Regions from separate parts of the Homo sapiens genome. Here region 1 is linked to region 2. Evidence: promoter capture Hi-C in 16 types of primary human blood cells and fetal thymus (Javierre and others, 2016). All regions are on one chromosome and are shown on one strand. Each heading gives the region's core, a stretch centred on a gene start or on the middle of the fragment in contact. The rest is flanking DNA. Distances are from core to core; before and after follow the strand shown.

The links. The method cuts DNA at HindIII sites, captures the fragments that hold promoters and counts their contacts. A CHiCAGO score of 5 or more calls a contact.
Region 1: the fragment with the promoter of AZGP1 here is called in contact with the fragment with the promoter of TAF6 in region 2 in 1 of 17 cell types (neutrophils); the score reaches 9.8 in neutrophils.

Annotation. Positions count from the first base shown.
Region 1 is chr7:99,974,608-99,977,307 of GRCh38, forward strand. AZGP1 (alpha-2-glycoprotein 1, zinc-binding) reads right to left here and starts at 1,424. Exons shown (of 4, transcript NM_001185.4): 1 at 1,338-1,424. The coding sequence starts at 1,413. The HindIII fragment of the contact is 13,516 bases long and covers 72-2,700 here.
Region 2 is chr7:100,118,107-100,120,806 of GRCh38, forward strand. It overlaps TAF6 (TATA-box binding protein associated factor 6), which reads right to left and starts at 1,252. Exons shown (of 15, transcript NM_139315.3): 1 at 1,098-1,252. CNPY4 (canopy FGF signaling regulator 4) reads left to right here and starts at 1,528. Exons shown (of 6, transcript NM_152755.2): 1 at 1,528-1,756. The coding sequence starts at 1,639. RefSeq lists enhancers at 1,205-1,354, 1,565-1,784, 2,155-2,224. The HindIII fragment of the contact is 7,272 bases long and covers 1-2,700 here.

The sequences.
Region 1 (2,700 bases), core at 174-2,673, 140 kb before region 2:
TAATCAAATACTTTTAAAAACTAAAATAACCAAAAAAGTATAATTGGATTGTCTGTAACACAAACGATAAAAGCTTGAAGGGATGGATACCTCATTTTTGATGATGTGATTATTTCACATTGCATGCCTGAATCAAAACCTCTCATGTACCCCATAAATATATACACATACTATGCACCCACAGTTTTTTTTTTAATTTACAAAAAAATCAGTAGACCTTGAGTAAAGTGGATTACTCTCCATAGTGGTGGGCTTCATCCAATCAGTTGAAGGCCTTAAGAGAAAAAGCCTCAGATGTCCCCTAAAGAGGAAAGAATTCTGCCTACAGTCTGCCCTTGGAATCAAGACTAAGACATCAACTCTTCCCTGGGTCTCCAGCCTGCTGGCCGGCTCTGAAGATTTAGGACTTGTTACTCCTCCCAATAGTGTGAGTCAATTTCTTAAAATAAATCTCTACTCTCTCTCTCTTTTGTATACATATATGTAAATCTCTTCCTATGTGTGTGTGTATCCATGTGTATACAGTGTATGTATGTATGTGTACGTACATATATATGTATATGTGTACCACCTATTAGTTCTGTTTCTCTGGAGAACCCTGAGTAATTCAGATTTTGGCACAGAATCAGATTAACATTCCAAAGTGATTGTTATATAACAAACATATAACACCTTTTCTGACAATTTGTAAATGTCATGAATTTTAAACTCACACAACTGAGAAGCCATTCGCTTCCATGTCTTTATCCTGCACATTCTCATGCCACAAACAGCCTCCTTCCCTTATCCTAGGAGTGACTCTTGATCTCCCGGAGCTCCCACTCTCTTCTCTTCCAGCCACTCGCCTTCCAGACCCACTGCAGTGGTGTCTGAGTGTGGGATTTGGGCACGGGTTTCCTTCTAGCACCATCCCTCCAGCCAACCTGCCTTCCCACTTTCCCCTTGGGGCTGCTCTCTCTTTCCCTCAGCGTCAGGCAGGTGTACCCAGCCATCGGAAGGAGGGAAGGAACAGGAGCAGAAGCAGCTCCAGGCATATGGTTCCTACTCCGTCCTGACTGTCTACCCCAAGCAGGTCGCTTGGTCTTTGGAGTCTTTGTTTTCACTGTAAACTAGGGGTTTTAGATTCAGATTCCTGAAGGTCTTATTTCGGGCCAGCGCAGAGGCTCCCTGAATGCTCCTGGAAGTGTGTGAGCTGAGGGAGTTGACAGCCTTGGGCACCCATTCCTGCCGTATGCCAGGGTATCCCAGCTGCATCCAGCCTGTCTCCCAGCCACATGTCCTGTTCCTCACCTCCTTCCAGTCCTCTCCAGCACCCATCCCTTGCTTTCCCCACTCACCATCTTGGTTCTCCTGGGGGACAGCAGGACCCAGAAGCAGCAGCAGAGACAGCAGGACAGGCACCATTCTTACCATTGTGTCTGCTTGGAGGGTTCTGGGCAGGAGGCACAGATATTATCCTGGGTCCTGGGGCCCTGCCCAGGGGAGGTGAATCTACAGGCCAATGGGAGTGCCAGGACGGGCTCCTCCCCTAATAGAGAAAAAAAAATGATACACAAGCTAGGCTGGGCAGAGGTTATGAAGAATGAATCTACACACAGGATATGCAAATTCAGAGCTGAGTCCAGAGTTGATCTCTGGACTGAGGCTTTGTGTGTGCCTGGGGTGGAAGGATGCCAGTGGGTAGGAGGTGCGTGTGATGGGTGGCAAGCGCCTGGGATGTGTCACCCTTCCAGTCTATTGTGACAACCCCTGGGCCAGTAGGGGCATTTGTGTGTTTTTGGACCACACTGTATCCCTGCCTTCCAGAAAAACTCTCAACATGTCCAAGACATGGACCTGGGTAGACCCCAGCTGGGGTGGGACCCTCACTCTCCCACATCCGATCCTGCCAGAGGCTGTGTCTGGAGGACAGTCACATTCCCATCTCTCCCTCCTTCCTTTCTGTGCCTGTGGAATCCCAGCCTTCCATGATGGAAGCAGAAATAGCCGCATCCTCCTTTTGCAGCCTCCCTGGCAACAGAACGAGCCTCCCAAAATGCTGGGATTAAAGGCGTGAGCCACCACGCCCAGCCAAGATAATTTTTAATGCATACAACAAGACTCGTTTTACACAGACGAAGCCAGTTATTTGAAAACCAGGTCTTTCCAGGCACGCTCAGTGTTGATGGGCTATTTGCAGAGAGACCCTCCGAATACAAAGCAACATGCTATTCTAAAGTGACTGGGGCCCGGGTGCGGTGACTCATGCTTGTAATCCCAGCACTTTGGGAGGCTGAGGTGGTTGGATCACCTCAGGTTGAGGTCAGGTACTCGAGACCAGCCTGGGCAACATGATGAAACCTCGTCTCTACTGAAAAAATACAAGAATTAGCTGCGCGTGGTGGCACATGCCTATAATCCCAGCACTCAGGAAGCTGAGGCAGGGGTTTCACCATGTTGGCCAAGCTGGTTTTGAACTCCTGACCTCGTGATCTGCCCGCCTCGGTCTCCCAAAGTGCTGGGTTTACTAGTGTGAGCAACTGTGCCCAGCCTCTCTTTTGGTTAAAGAAACCTACAAAGGGACCTTTTATAGTGACTTCAATTTTATGGAATAATTGTAATGCTCCTAAGGCCGTTGTGCTCCAAAGTCTAGCCGCAGGTATTGTTATTGATTGGGCTCCAAAAGGGCATTATTGGCAAGATTGCTCCAGCAAAAATACC
Region 2 (2,700 bases), core at 2-2,501:
TTTGGGAGGCCAAGGCGGGAAGATCACCTGAGGTTAGGAGTTCGAGACCACCCTGGCCAACATGGTGAAACCCTGTCTTTTTGTAAAAACACAAAAATTAACCAGACATGGTGGCGGGCGCCTGTAGTCCCAGCTATCTGGGAGGCTGAGGTGGGAGAACCGCTTGAACCAGGAAGCGGAGGTTGCAGTGAACCGAGATCGTGCCACTGCACTCCAGCCTGGGCGATAGAGAGAGACTCCATCTCAAAAAAAAAAAAAAAGCAAATTGGAGCCAAGAGAGGTAACTCACCCCAGTAATCCCAGCACTTTGGAAGGCAGAGGTGGGGGGATTGTTTGAGGCCAGGAGTTTGAGACAGCCTGGTCAACATAGTGAGACCCCCATTTCTGCAAAAATTAAAAAATTAGACGGACCTGGTGGTGTGAACCTGTCATCCCAGCTACTTAGGAGGCTGAGGCAGGAGGATCGCTTGAACTGAGGAGTTGGAGGCTGCAGTGAGCCAAGATGGTGCCACTGCACAACAGCCTGGGTAACAGACGGAAACCCTGTCTCAAAAAAAAAACAAAAAAAAATTAAAGTGGCACACTTGCAGTTGGACATTAGGAAGATTAACATATCAATACTGCTTAGGAGTAGTACAGGTAGGGTGGGGCCGTGCTGGAAGGATGGGAAGAGGGAGGCCGAAAAACAAATTGGTTCTTTTCAAACCATCCCTGATCTCCTCCCCGACTTTTATAAGTCTTATCTATAGGGAACACAACTATTCGAGACATACTCTGTGCCTGGCGCCGGGTTTACAAGAGGGGGTCGTGTCCCACTTCCCTGGCGAACTCCTACGAATCCTTCAATACCCGGCGGTACCCTCTGCCAGTAAAGGCTCATAAAACACGCTACAGTCACAGGATCTCCTCAGATCAGTGGAGGCGGCAGGAAGGCGTCCCAGGGAAGGGTTAACTTAAGCGAGATCCCAGCAGAGAAGCAGGTCGAAGATCCCCGGGCAGCGCGAAAGGAGGTTCAGAGAGCCCACCCCATCTCCTGCAACATCTCTCCAATGCAGGCACACACACGGGGTCCCCACGAGCACAGACACACAACCAACCGTCCTCTTTCCAGTCCCCACAAGGGACCTTCAAAGGGTCTCCTCCGGGGTACCACTCAGACCCGCCCCCGCCACCCGAGCGCGGGGAGCAGGAAAACTCTAGCGGCAGCCGAGACGCTGCTCACCCGGCGCTCGGCGCCATCTTGGCCCCGCCCCCTCGTGGGAGCAGGTCCTGGCAGAGCCTAAGAGCAAGTCACTGCCCCTTCCCCGTACCAGAATAAGTCCTCTAGGCTCGCAGAATGAAATTATATTTTAAAAGTTTGTTTCTACATCTATATATAAGGAGCACTCCCTCTTGGTGTAATTACTGCAATTTATTCCTTCACTACCCGGCTGCCAGGACCTTCAAGAGGCGCCACAAAACGGAGGCAGGGAAACCCGTAGCAACGAGGCCCCACCCTTGTTGGGCTGATCCTGCGCATGCGCCGACCTTCCTCGGCTGGATTTAAGGTTGCCGCTAGCCGCCTGGGAATTTAAGGGACCCACACTACCTTCCCGAAGTTGAAGGCAAGCGGTGATTGTTTGTAGACGGCGCTTTGTCATGGGACCTGTGCGGTTGGGAATATTGCTTTTCCTTTTTTTGGCCGTGCACGAGGCTTGGGCTGGGATGTTGAAGGAGGAGGACGATGACACAGAACGCTTGCCCAGCAAATGCGAAGGTATTTGAAGGGGGTAGCCCCTATAGGCATCGCCCGGCCACACCTCCTTCTTCTAGGCCGGACATCCTAGCCTGTATTGGGTGGGTCACCCGACCTCCTTGAAGGCTTGAGGGAGGTTCTGGTGGAGCTTGGCTGAATTTGGATGGGGTCAAGGAAGCGAACGTGTAGTGCCACCTCAAACTGCATCCAGAGAGAGCCTGCATTTTTTTGGCTGGCTTGGAACCCCCCGCCCGCCAATGGATTGTGGGAATTGTAGTTCAGGGACCATCGGCCCGGGACTGCCAACTTTTAGAGCATCTTCAGTGAGTGTTTACCTCATGTCACCAGACCTTAATCTGCAGAGGCTGCAGGAGCCGGGTGTGAGGCTCAGGCCTTGTGGACATCCGCTGCCCTACCCTAGCATAGACGCTCCCAAATTACAGGCCCCACACCCCGCTGAGGGGGTTTGAGGGTGAGTAATTCAGCCTTTGAAGCTCATAAACAAAAGGAAGCCACACAACTAGGAGAGTGTCCCCATCCGGTGAGACTTTGCAGACGGTGCGTACTATATGGATTTTTCAGCAAGCAGCGCCTTCCATAGCTGCACTAGCGTGGGGCCCAGTTGAGAAAGGGGGCTGGCCCTGATGCCCTAGTTTGCTGCCCTCCTGACTTTACGTTTCTTCCCTGGATTCCTTTTCTCTTCGCTTCACCCCCTCAACTGTATTCCAGTATCATGAAAGGCAGTCATGACAGTCTCATGACTTGGTCCTCATCTCTGTCTCCTTTCACCTCCGTGTGCCGCTCTTCTCCCCTGACCTGTCAATCTTTTTAAACAGACTTAATCACCTAATTGTATCAGTCCTTGCTTTAACACCTCTGCAGGCCTTCTATCAGAATACAGCCAACGGGCCTGGGCACAGTGGCTCACATCTGTAATCCCAGCACTTTGGAAGGCCAAGGTGGGA